Regions from separate parts of the Homo sapiens genome. Here regions 2 and 3 are each linked to region 1. Evidence: promoter capture Hi-C in 16 types of primary human blood cells and fetal thymus (Javierre and others, 2016). All regions are on one chromosome and are shown on one strand. Each heading gives the region's core, a stretch centred on a gene start or on the middle of the fragment in contact. The rest is flanking DNA. Distances are from core to core; before and after follow the strand shown. Region 1 holds the start of RCVRN (recoverin). Region 2 has its middle 34 kb from the start of GAS7. Region 3 has its middle 51 kb from the start of GAS7.

The links. The method cuts DNA at HindIII sites, captures the fragments that hold promoters and counts their contacts. A CHiCAGO score of 5 or more calls a contact.
Region 2: a contact is called between a fragment that was not itself captured here and the fragment with the promoter of RCVRN in region 1, in 2 of 17 cell types (neutrophils and monocytes). The highest score is 12.2, in neutrophils.
Region 3: a fragment that was not itself captured here is called in contact with the fragment with the promoter of RCVRN in region 1 in 4 of 17 cell types (monocytes, neutrophils, M0 macrophages and 1 more); the score reaches 11.8 in monocytes.

Annotation. Positions count from the first base shown.
Region 1 is chr17:9,903,996-9,908,576 of GRCh38, reverse strand. It overlaps RCVRN (recoverin), which reads left to right and starts at 3,306. Exons shown (of 3, transcript NM_002903.3): 1 at 3,306-3,777. The coding sequence starts at 3,397. The HindIII fragment of the contact is 11,305 bases long and covers 1-4,581 here.
Region 2 is chr17:10,230,028-10,234,298 of GRCh38, reverse strand. No RefSeq gene overlaps it. Among named protein-coding and RNA genes, the nearest start is that of GAS7, 34 kb to the right of the region's middle. The HindIII fragment of the contact is 8,093 bases long and covers 1-4,271 here.
Region 3 is chr17:10,247,217-10,251,908 of GRCh38, reverse strand. No RefSeq gene overlaps it. Among named protein-coding and RNA genes, the nearest start is that of GAS7, 51 kb to the right of the region's middle. RefSeq lists a silencer at 445-494. The HindIII fragment of the contact is 1,045 bases long and covers 1,486-2,530 here.

The DNA of each region.
Region 1 (4,581 bases), core at 2,057-4,556:
AGCTCTCCCTCTGATAGAAGATGTTTATGCAGGTTTTCAAACAAACCTCCAGGTCATGACCCCTCACTCTCAGCATCAACACAGCTGCCTGCGGTCCCCTGGGGCCCCTCCTGGGCACAGCAACCTGGAGAATGTGGACTGTACCAGGCTGCTTCCGACCTGGGTCCAGCTCCTTCCTCCTTGTGCCTGGAGAGGACAGCAAAGACTGGAGGGCTCTGGCTGCCTTCTGCCTCGCCCAGGGCCTCTTTCATTGACATGGTAACCCCACCTCCTCACCTACTTGTCCTCTAGGCTCAGGCCTCCTGTGACGTAGACAAAGGAAGCCTAAATGGACAGGCTGGCAGACCTGGACTTTCCTTCCTTCTGGCATTGCCATTTAGCAACCATGTGACCCCAGGCTGGTGACATGCCTTTAGGAGGCCCCACTTCTCACTTGTAACACTGGCTTCGCCTCATCTGCTGCAGGCTTGATGTGGACAGGGGTGCGATCCAGGAGGCACTTCCAGTCGCCCCCTACTAGTGGCTCAGAGCAAGGGGCCGAGGCCTCTGACCTCACTCTCCCTCCATCCCCAGGGCTGCAAGGAAGCTCTGGAATGAATGCGATTCCAGGGTGTGGCTTGGGCTCCCGTTTGTTTTCAAGGCTAGTGACTGTCCTGTTTCTAACTGCTCTTGAGAATAAATGCACGCTACAGGATGGTGAAAGCCTAGGAGAGGAAGGACTCCTATTCAGAAGTAATATTCTCACTGGGCGCAGTGGCTCATGCCTGTAATCCCAGCACTTGGGGAGGCCAAAGCAGGCAGATCATGAGGTCAGGGGATCGAGACCGGCCTGACCAACAAGGTGAAATCCCATCTCTGCTAAAAACACAAAAATTAGCTGGGCATGGTGGTGAGCGCCTGTAATCCCAGCTACTTGGGAGGCTGAGGCAGGAAAATCGCTTGAACCTGGGAGGCAGAGGTTGCAGTGAGCCGAGATCGTGCCATTGCACTCCAGCCTGGGCGCAGAATGAGGCTCTGTCTTAAAAAAAAAAAAACAAAAAAAACAAACAAACAAAAAAAAAAAAACTCACAAAGTGATGGAAAAAAATTAGAAAGTTCACACACACACCCCAATATGCAGGTTTCCTGAGAAATCTCTGAAACTGTACTGGGCAGAGCGGCTGGGAGGGATGAGTCTGCCCCTTGGTGCCTGAACCTCTCGGTCCTTCCAGAGTGACATGAGGTGGGCCTGGCAGGTGGCTTTCTCCCAGCAGCAGGGACCTACCTTCTGCTGCCACTAGCCTGTTAGTAAGTAGGCTAAAATCCCCACTTTACACTTTGAGATGCAAGGCGGGCGGATCACCTGAGGTCAGGAGTTTACGAGACCAGCCTGACCAATATGGTGAAACCTCGACTCTACTAAAAATACCAAAAAAAAATTAGCTGGGCGTGGTGGCAGACACCTGTAGTCCCAGCTTCTCAGGGGACTGAGACAGGAGAATTGCTTGAAACCAGGAGGCGGAGGTTGCAGTGAGCCAAGATCGTGCCCAGCCTAAGTGACAGAGGGAGACTCCGTCTAAAAAAAAACCAGTTTACCTGCCTGGAGACCGTGGGGTTTATTCTTCATCATTCTCACCCCAGGGCAAAAAGAGACAACTCTCCATCCACGGTGGCAAGGCTGGGGTTCTGAGTGTGTCCCCTCGAGCACTGCGCTCCGCTAAGGAAAGTGCACGCCCACCCTCCCTTCCTTCTGGGTGACAAGAATCCAGGTGTGCAGCGTCCTCACTAGGTTGCTTCCTCGTGCTTGATACTCCCCGCTGAGCTGCACAGACGCGAAGCCTGCCTTTGCACAGCTCCGTCTCTGACCACTCAGTTATTTATCCATTCACTCAGCAAACACGTTTTCTTGCCTGCTCACTCCAAGTCCACTGCAGACGGACACCCTGCAGCCTGCCATGGACCCACAGATAGATTGTGTTTGGCCCACACCATGTTTTGTTTTGTTTTTGTTTTTGTTTTTGTTTTGTTTTTTTGAGATGGAGTCTCACACTTGTCACCCAGGCTGGAGTGCAATGGTGCAATCTCGGCTCACTGCAACCTCTGCCTCCCGGGTTCAAGCGATTCTCCAGCCTCAGCCTCCCAAGTAGCTGGGATTACAGTCACCTGCCACCATGCCCGGCTAATTTTTTGTATTTTTAGTAGAGACAGGGTTTCACCATGTTGGCCAGGCTGGTCTCGAACTCCTAACCTTGTAATCTCCCCACTCAGTCTCCCAAAGTGCTGGGATTACAGACGTGAGCCACCATTAAAATTTTGAATTAATTGCCAAAGTTGAAAAGTGTGGAAATTGCAAGAAAAATTCTGATTTTTGGATTTCTCTTGAATAATTTAAAAAAACCCAAAAATCTCACCATCCCATGTGACCACGTTCTCTGGCAGCCCCTTCCCGAGGTGACACAGGCCTGGCTGCCCCCTGCTGGTCCCTTCAGGCAGTTCACCTTCACTCCCTGTGACTGATGGACAATAACAAAACGAGTGTTTAGCATTAGCCATGTGCCAGTTTCTAAGTGTGTCAGACATATTGACTCACATCAGCCTCACAATGACAGTGTGGTAGATGCTATGATGCCCATTTATTCAAGAAAGACTTGCTGGGGGCCCAAGCCTATCAGGTTCTGGCAATGGAAATGCATCCGGGAACAACACAGACAAAATCCCATCCTTCACGGAGCTTTCATTCCGGTGAGGGGACATGCAGCGTGCCGATGATGGTGGGGGTTGTGCTATTATAGATAGAGGGTCAGTATAGGCCTGGCTGAGCAGGTGACATTTAAGCAGAGACATGACTGCAGTGAAGGTTTAGAAGAGTGTCCCAGGTGGAAAGAGGTGAAGAAACAAGCCTGGGGCCACACAGCTAGTTAAGTAGCCAAGCTGGGACTTGAACCCATGCTGGCCCCAGAGTCTGTGCTCCTAACCATTGCATTCTAGGGCTTGATATGAGATGCCAGCCCCGCCCCGAGATGCTCAGAGTTAGTGAGGAAGAGAAACAGGGAACATGGCTGCTGTTAGAGGGCTGGGGCTGGGGGTGCCGGAGGCCCCAGCTCTGAGGGTTCCAACCTCCTGTCCTGTTCTAGTATCGTCCCGGGAGGCCGAGATGAATTGCCTGCCTGCCCTGGGCTCTTTATTTTAATCTCACTAGGGTTCTGGGAGCACCCCCCCCCACCGCTCCCGCCCTCCACAAAGCTCCTGGGCCCCTCCTCCCTTCAAGGATTGCGAAGAACTGGTCGCAAATCCTCCTAAGCCACCAGCATCTCGGTCTTCAGCTCACACCAGCCTTGAGCCCAGCCTGCGGCCAGGGGACCACGCACGTCCCACCCACCCAGCGACTCCCCAGCCGCTGCCCACTCTTCCTCACTCATGGGGAACAGCAAAAGTGGGGCCCTGTCCAAGGAGATCCTGGAGGAGCTGCAGCTGAACACCAAGTTCTCGGAGGAGGAGCTGTGCTCCTGGTACCAGTCCTTCCTGAAGGACTGTCCCACCGGCCGCATCACCCAGCAGCAGTTCCAGAGCATCTACGCCAAGTTCTTCCCCGACACCGACCCCAAGGCCTACGCCCAGCATGTGTTCCGCAGCTTCGATTCCAACCTCGACGGCACCCTGGACTTCAAGGAGTACGTCATCGCCCTGCACATGACCACCGCGGGCAAGACCAACCAGAAGCTGGAGTGGGCCTTCTCCCTCTACGACGTGGACGGTAACGGGACCATCAGCAAGAATGAAGTGCTGGAGATCGTCATGGTCAGTCTCCCCTCTCCCCTTCTGGCTGGGCGGTGCCGGGGTCGCTCCGGGCTGGGGGTCCCCTGCTGCAGCTGCTGCAGAGGGAGTGGATCTGTGGGTGGAGCGGGGGATGCGGGCCACTGGCTCTGAGAGCGTGGTGCTCCGAGATGCTGATATTGATAGAGGGGTGGGCACTTGCCCACAGCTTCGTTGTCTTCCCGGAGCAGAATCTGAGTGTTTCCTAATACAGCCATGTTATGCTTGGCTTCACGATGTTTGGGTCAACAACGGACGATATAGACCACTGTGGTCCCATAAGATTGTAATGGAGCTGAAAAATTCCTACTGCCTAGTGACGTCATAGCACAGTTACTTTATTTTTCAAATGCATTTAGTGTAGCCTAAGTGTATCCGTAAAGTCTGTAGTTGTGTACGGTAATGTCCTAGTTCTTCACATTCACTCACTACTCACTCACTGACTCACCCAGAGCAACTCCCAGTCCTGCAAGCTCCACTCATGGTGAGTGCCCTAGACAGGTCTACCATTTTGTATCTTGGTTTTTTATTTTTTATTTTTTTGAGATGGAGTCTCACTCTGTAGCCCAGAGCTGGAGTGCAATAGTGCGATCTTGGCTCACTGCAACCTCTGCCTCCCGAGTTCAAGCAATTCTCCTGTCTCAGCCTCCCGAGTAGCTGGGATTACAGGTGTGCACCACTATGCCTAGCTAATTTTTGTATTTTTAGTAGAGACGGGGTTTCACCATGTTGGTCAGGCTGGTCTCAAACTCCCGACCTCCAGCGATCCGCCAGCCTCAGCCTCCCAAA
Region 2 (4,271 bases), core at 198-2,697, 330 kb before region 1:
AGAACAAACAAGACCTGAGAAGTGAGATAGGCATCCACCTTTGACCTAGTTTGAAGACTCAACCTGCTCTGACTCAGGTGTGGATATCTTTGTGCCAACTCACTAGTTGCATAGCCTTGAGCTAAAGTGGATGAAATTTTCTGTGCCTCAATTTCCTTGTCTATAAAACAAGGCTGGCTGGGTGCGGTGGCTCATGCCTGTAATCCCAACACTTCGGGAGGCCAAGGCAGGTGGATCACCTGAGGTCAGACGTTTGAGACCAACAAGGAGAAACCCCGTCTCTACCAAAAATACAAAATTAGCTGGCTGTGGTGGTGCATGCCTGTAATCCCATCTACTCGGGAGGCTGAGGCAGGAGAATCGCTTGAACCTGGGAGGCGGAGGTTGCAGTGAGCCGAGATCACACCACTGCACTCCAGCCTGGGCAACGAGAGCGAAACTCAGTCTCAAAAAAATAAAACAAGGCTAATAGTAGTACTTTCTCAAGGATTGTTGAGAGGATGAAATGAGGTGATCCCTCTAAAGGTCTACAAACCATAGCTGGCACACAGCTGGTGCTCAATGAATGTTACTCCATTGACCATGGGGCCCATCACGGTAGACACTCCACATCCATTACAGGGGCAGACCCAGTGTGTTTCCCACCCCAATGTCATTTTTCTCCCCCTTTTTCCCTGCTGCTAGAGGTGGCTCTTCATGCTAGCTTTTGGAAATGCTGGGTATTTATTTCCCCAGGCTCCTTCCCAGCAAAAAATTGCCATGGTTCAGTTCTGGCCAATGAGATGTAACAGAAAATGTGTCGGGGGAGCAATGTTCTCCTCCTTGATAAGAGAGATGTGTGGAAAAAACTCTTCTCCTTTCATGCTTTGGGCACTCTGGTGTGAAGACCTGATGCTTGGAGCTGATGCAACCATCTTGCCACCATGAGGGAGGAGCCACATGGGTTGCAGAGACTTAGACTCAATGCCTTGATATTACTCATCACTGATGTCATTGATCCTACCCTGGAATCACTTACCTTCTGCTTTCTCATTAGCTAGAACAACTCAATACATTTTATTTTACTTTATTATTATTTTGAGACAGTCTTACTCTGTTGCCTAGGCTGGAGTGCACTGGTGCCATTTCGGCTCACTGCAACCTCTACCTCCTAGGTTCAAGAGATTCTCATACTCGGCCTCCCGAGTAGCTGAGACTACAGGCATGTGACACCATGCCCCAGCTAATTTTGTGTGTGTGTGTGTGTGTGTGTGTGTGTGTGTGTGTGTGTGTGTGTGTTAGGGACTGGATTTCACCATGTTGGCCAGGCTGGTCTCCAACTCCTGACCTCAGGTGATCCGCCCACCTTGGCCTCCCAAAGTGCTGGTATTACAGGCATGAGCTACCGTGCTCAGCCAATACATTATATTTTAAAGCAACTATAAATCCCACTGTCTGTTACAACCAAGAGTATCTTAATTAGTATCATAAGCTAAGGAATCCTTACAACCTAACCCTCTTATGCAAGTATTGCTCCAATTTTACAGGTGAAGAAGCCGAAAGCAATGTGGCAGGAGTTTTGAAGATATATTACCTAATTTAATCCTCATTAAAACTCTGGAGGTAGGTTTTATCTCCATTTCAAATTTGTGTCCACATTTAGGAGATTCAATATTGCCCAGTCTCACACAATGTATACATGGACTAGATAGGACTTCTACCCAGATCTTCCAATTCTAAATAGAATGTTATTCCCAACATTCTTTGGTACTTTGATTCAGCATCAAAATCCTTTTGGACATTTTACTTCACTGCTGATGTCGAATAAATAAAAATTCAGCCACTCTAATTTAGGTCATGTCAACCTGAACATAATTATGTTCATTGCTTAGAAAGTGCATTTGCTAACGAAATATTAGTCATAGTGAGAAAGAATGGTGGCTACAGCTGGATGAAATTCACAGCCCTAAGACCCATGTGCCAATGTATATTTCTGTCTTTAGGCGCTCAGAGAATTTATATTCCCCATCCGCACTTCAACTGGTAATTGCCCAGCGTCTGTTCTTTTTAAGTCTTTATTATATTTTATTCTCTCCCAGATGTTGAGTTGGGCTGCAGTGATTTCAGGATTTCAGTGAGAGGTCCAGCTGCTGGGTTTGGGAAGTATCCATGCTTTGTTCCTTTTCAGTCCTTCAACTTGAATTTATGATGAGGTTTTGATGAATGGTTCCCTTCTCCCAGCCCTGCCCTCTTTGCATGTGTCTGCGTCTGTGATATCTTTGGTTTAATTATGCGGATGTGTCTCTTGTTAGAAAATTTATGTGATGACTGTTGTCAAGATCCAGGAGCCAGAACCAGGGGTTTGTGATCTAAACACCCTTGACTCCACTCTGCAGTACATCCAAAGTGAAGCTGGGAAGACCAGGTAGCTTATTAATTTAAGGCTCTATCAGGTTGAGAGTTTGAGAAAGTGTCAGCCCTGCAGTGAATTGCAGACATATGATGGGAACCAAGGATTTGAAGGACCAAGGCAAGATTAGGGGCAGAGGTAAGGGAGCATGGATAGAGATGAATGGGAGAGAGAAGATGGGGATGGATGGGTGAGTGTATTTATGGTATTCGCATAGATAGAACCATACAATTTGGACCTTTGCCATCCAGAGACTGCTGGCACCATCCAATAAACTTGGTTAAATTCACTCACGTCTTGACTTTCCAACTCAATTTTTTTTTCAAAAATAGAGGCAGGGTCTCTCTATATTGACCAGGATGGTCTTGAGCTCTGGACTTAAGTGATCCTCCCACCTTGGCCTCTCAAAGCACTGGGATTACAAGCATGAGCCATCATGCCCGGCCTCTAACTAGATCATACATTCTTTGAATTCAAATCTATTCTAGTTATTTCTTGCTGTGTAACAAATCACCCCCAAATTCAGTGGCTTAATGCAACAAAAGTCATTTCACTATCTGTCATTGTTTCTGTGGGTCAGGAATTTGGGACAGTCTCATCTGGACAGTTCTGGCCAGTGGTCTCATTTAATTGCAACCAGACAGTGGTTGAAGCAGCTGAAGACTGGCAGGACATCTTTCTTCAAGTAGGTTCAGGGCTTCTCTATCTAGGGGAGTTTGAGCTTCCTCACAGCATGGCGGACTTGTGGGCAGCCAGACTGCCTCCATGGCCGCAAACTTCAGAAGGGAGTATTCCAAAGTAAGGGGACAGTGGCATTGTTTGCTATGACCTTTCTGCTATATTTTATTGGTCAAAACAGGTGCAAAAGCTCACTTAATTTCAAAGGAAAGGGACATAGACGGCACCTCTTGATGGAAGGAATGTAAAGGTTACGTTGTAACAAGTGCTCCTAGGATGGGAGAGCCCTTGGTGGCCATATTGGAATACATGCCTTCACAAGACTTAACCTTTCCTATCTGTTTATTGATTATTCATTTTTTTTACCTCTCCCATAGTTCCTATCATTGAGCTACCATTACCAGAAGTGCTCTATGGGTGCTGACAACCTAATGCAATTCAATGCAACAAATTATTTATTGATTCATTTTACAAATTGCTCATTGAGCACATACTAGTGCCAGGTACTGAATCAGGCACAGGGGATACCATAGTGGGCAATTCTGCCTGTCCTCATGGATCCTATCACCTACTGAAAGAGATGTGCCACTGATTATTGAATAATCAAAGAAATATTATATGTTAGGACTGTATTAATCTGTTCTTATGCTGCTAATAAAGACATACCCAAGACTGGGTACTTTATAAAAGAAAGAGGTTTAATGGACTCACAGTTCCACATGGCTGAGGAGGCCTCACAATCATGGCAGAGAGCAAAGGAGAAGCAAAGGCAGGTCTTACAAGGCAGCCGGCAAGAGAGAGCAAGTGCAGGGGAACTCCCATGTATAAAACCATCAGATCTTGGGAGGCCGAAGCGGGCGGATCATGAGGTCAGGAGATCGAGACCATCCTGGCTAACACAGTGAAACCCCATCTCTACTAAAAATACGAAAAATCAGCCAGGCATGGTGGTGGGCGCCTGCAGTCCCAGCTACTTGGGAGGCTGAGGCGGGAGAATCGCTTGAACCCAGGAGGAGGAGCTTGCGGTGAGCCAAGATCGCGCCACTGCACTCCAGCCTGGGCAACAGAGCAAGACTCCATCTCAAAAAAAAAAAAAAAAAAAAAAAAAAAACAACCATCAGGTCTCATGAGACTTATCCACTACACAAGAACAGTGTGGGGGAAACTGGCCCCATGATTCAGCTATCTCCACCTGGCCCCACCT
Region 3 (4,692 bases), core at 759-3,258, 340 kb before region 1:
TAAAGTTGGGTAACTCAGGATAGTTACGCCAGTTGAGTAAGAAAGGGAATTGCTTGATGGGAGTTAGAGTGGCTGCGGCTCTGAAAACGTGGCCACTAGCCTTTGAAGGTCCACTGGGCTTAGGACCTTGGACAGAGACACATCACCTGGGCCACGACTTATACTGAGCATGACATCACAGCAGAATCCTACCTGGGACATCACCTAGGTAGAGCCAATCAAGCAACCAAATAACACTGAGGACCCAGTCAGATAGAGAAACGTGGCCTGGCCAAGAAAGGAGAGGTCTCCCTTCTCCACTTCCCACTAGGGGACACTTGGAGCAGCTATTGAGGGGCTGCAAGGAGGAAGAGAAGAGACAGCAAAGGACAAAGCTCTCCTCTGATGCCCAAGCTCGGAGTGGGGTTCTGAACCAGACAGTGGTGGAGGATAAAAATACCTGAACGGCGTGAAATGTTTACTCGAAATGAAACTATTTTAAACTGGAAATGACTGGACAGGGCTGGTATTTATAAGACTGGGCTAACTTCAGTTTTTCCGCTGCTGAGTGTGAAAAGGGATTTTTTAGCAAAAAGGAAGTGAGTTACAAAAATAACGCAAACTTCTTGTTGGCACATGGCTAAGTGGGGCCTGTTCAATTAAAGCAGTTAAATAAATAAATAAGCAATGAGACTTGAGCTGTGTGCTCCACCTCCTCTTGAATGCTAAGCTGATCAGAGGCCTCTGTGATCAGAGTGGCAGCTGCACTCCTCAAGCCCTTTGACAATCACAAATGCAGACATTTTTTGTGTAGGAATCTCCTGCCTCTTGCAAATACTATTCCTTCTTAAAGTCTAGACCAGCTACATTCAATGGAACTTTTTGTGATGGTGAAAATATCTTATATCAGCCAGGCATGGTGGCTCATGCCTGTAATCCTAGCACTTTGGGAGGCAGAAGCAGGAGAATTACTTGAGTCCAGGAGTTTGGGGCCAGCCTGGGCAACACAGTGAGATCTCATCTCTATAAAAAATAAACAAAATTAGCCAGGCATGGTGGTGCATGCCTGTGTAGTCCCATATACTCAGGAGGCTGAGGTGGGAGGATTGCTTGAGCCCCAGGAAGTCGAGGCTACATTGAACCATGATCATGCCACTGCACTCCAGCGTGGGCGACAGAACGAGACCCTGTCTCAAAAAAAGAAAAAAGACAGAATAAAATAAAATAAAATATCTTATATCTCCACTATCTAATATGATAGCCACAAGCCACATGTGGTTATTTAGGGACTGAATTTTAAATGTTATTTAATTTTCATTAGTTTTGATGTAAATAGTGACATATGACTGGTGCCACTACGTGGAACAATACAGTTCTAGGTGGAATTGTACATCTTTCTTTCTACTGAACTTCTGGAAATCTGGTTTCCTCATTGTGCAGTGCAGCGTTTTCTGTTTGTTTGCTACTGCAAACTCCAAAGTGACAGGGTCACTTTGGCTCAAAGCTTCTAATACTTCCACATCACCCACCAATTCTTCCGTAAGTATCCTCAGAACCAAATTTAGAATAACATTTACAATAATGTTTACATCTGGAAAGTTCGAGCACAGATTGGATACCTCAGAATATTAAGGAATAACTAAAATTACATATTGATATATTTACAGATAAAATGGTACAATGTCTGCAATTTGCTTTAGATAATAGAGTGAGGAGTGGATAGAGGAAACAAGACTGTTTGGTAATTGTTGAAGCTGTGATAGGTCCATAGGCATCCCTTAGAGTAGTCTACTTTACATAAGTATAAATATTTTAATTTTTAAAATTTAAGAGTTTTTGACAAAATGGGAAATTGCCTATATTATAAAATTAAGTGAAAGGGAAAAACAGGCTACAAAATTATAAATATACACTATAACAAGGAATTTATGTAGGTGGAAGCACAAATACAGAATGTAGTATAGTGGTTAAGAGCCCAGATGGCTTAGTTCAAATCCTGGCTCTAGCACCAACTTGGCTCTGTGATCTCAGAGAATTTTTTTTTAGCTTTACTAAACCTCAGTCTTCTTATCCACAAACTAAGGATCATACAAGAATGCACCTCTTAATGCTGTAGAGATTAAATGAGCCTATTTATTAAATACTTAGCCAACATCCGGCACACAGTACAAATCCAATTGCTTATCTTTGAGGAATAGATGTATGAGTGTCACCACTGTATTATCGAATCTTCCACCAGAAGTATGTCTTTCTTTTATGTTCAAGGGAAAAATATAGTTTTTAAAAGAAAGGAAAACAGAACAGCTTACTCCATTGCTACTTCCGTGTTCTGAGAAACTGTTAGCAAAGTAAGATAATAATTTATCAGATGTTCTAAACTTTAGCAAAAGAAGAATTCCAGCTTATGTCTGCATAACTGGAATTCCTAATGAAACTCTTTCATGGCTTGGGGATGTGTGTTAGGAAAGCATCTTCTCCAGGCTTCCTCTGGCCCCATGTTGGGTGGAGTCTTGTTTCTGTGGTTGTCCTCCCTATTCCTGACCCCAAAGCTTTCCATACTGACAGGCAGACCACTTAGTAACTTCCTCACAGATAATGCTATACAATATTCCCTTTCTATTGGACTTGCATCTTTCAAATAAAATACATCCTTCCATTGTCACTTTCCAGTTATGATTCCCCTCCTAAGTAGCAATGATGCTAATGAAATTATAGCTTTCTTCTTCTTTCAGTAGTATGAACATCTTACCTTATCCATTTCCCCCACACCCTTTGCACTGGGAGATGGATGTGTAAGACCATAAATAAAGTTCCCATCCTGTTGCCTTTATTTTTGCCCAAGAATAACTGGGCACTGTATCTTTCTTTTCTTTTTTTTCTTTTCCTCTTTCTTTCTTTCTTTCCTTCTTCCTTCCTTCCTTTCTTTCTTCCTTTCTTTCTTCTTTCTCTTTCTTTCTTTCACAGAGTTTTGCTCTTGTTGCCAAGGCTGGAATGTAGTAGCATGATCTGGGCTCACTGCAACCTCTGCCTCCCCGGTTCAAGCAATTCTCCTGCCTCAGCCTCCCGAGTAGCTGGGACCTACAGGCACCCACCACCACACCTAGCTAATTTTTTGTATTTTTAGTGGAGATGGGGTTTCACCATGTTGGCCAGGCTGGTCTCGAACTCCTGACCTCAAGTGATCCACCCGACTCGGCCTCCCAAAGTGCTGAGATTACGGGCATAAGCCACCGCGCCTGACTCATCCTGTTTCTTTCTAATCACAAAGACTGTTTTACATTTTCTCAACTATCATTGTACATTACAGTAACCAAACTGAAATTACATTAAACCAGATTGATGGGAGAGAGAGAATTTAAAGGTATAGATTCACATAACTAAAAAGTCCAAGAGGTACGGTTAGCTTCAGACATGGCTAAATCCAAGTGCCCTAATGTTTTCAGGAATTTCTGTCTCTCCATCATTAGACTCAGCTTTCTGCTGTATTCATTTCATTCTCAGTCTCATTCGAGCTCGGTCTCACGCTAGCTATCATCGTAACAACTCTAAGAAAGCATATCTCATTCCTAATCATTTGAGCAAAGTCCCAGAGAAAACTCTCATTGGTCCAGGCTGAGTCACGTGTCCACCTCTGAATAAATCACTGAGATTTTGATAGACTCTTACCAAGTTGCATATTCACCCATGAAGCCAAAGGATGTGTCGACCCTCTTCAGCTGCATAGACTATGAAAATGCCTGGTTTTCCTTCAGAAATAAAGAGGTTATTAAAAGAAGATGGCAAAAGAATGCTGAGCAGACAAAAACAACAGCTGTTTACTATGTAGCCCACAGAAATCTTTTAAGTGTCCTTTGATGTCATTGGGTAATCTGCCCAGCACATTCTTCCCCGACTTTGCGGTACTCTCTGTGTTTTGCCAGTAGCCTTGTACTCTAGCATCTTGGGCTCTGGCCCAGGAAATGAAATCCTCACCAACACCATCAACATCTTTTGCTCACCAGCTGCTCACTCCCAACATCTTTTCTCTTCTCCCCAAAGTCGCAGCCATCAGCCAGATGAAAAGATGGAACGGCCCCAAATCCTTCAATGTCCTTCTCAGAACTTTAAAACTTCCAGACACATATTTCAAATTTATTTGGACTGTGCCATTTATCCGCACATGAGTCAGCAGAAGTGGGTAATGGCTAGAGACTCAGTGCAAATATTCCATCACCTCACATCCAGAAACATGGTGCCCCTCTGAGCATGCCCCAGCTGGTCTCAGGAAAGAGTCAATGCATTCTGGGAAAGCACAAAGGTTGGGGTTTTGTTGTTGTTGTTGTTGTTGTTGTTTTCTACCTGGCTGTGGCTGCTTCTTCCATATGTATACATCACAGTACCTGGCAAAATATTGAGGACATATGAGAGGTTCAATGATGTATGTCCTGTTTCCACTTTGCCCTTTCCAAGTGCCCTTAAGAAACAAACAAACAGGCTGGGCGTGGTGGCTCATGCCTGTAACCCCAGCACTTTGGGAGACCAAGGCGGGTGGATCACCTGAGGTCAGGAGTTCGAGACCAGCCTGGCCAACTTGGCAAAACCCCGTCTCTACTGAAAATACAAAAATTAGCTGGGCATGGTGGCTGGCACCTGTAGTCCCAGCTACTTGGGAGGCTGAGGCAGGAAAATCATTTGAACCCAGGAGTCGGAGGTTGCAGTGAGCTGAAATTGCGT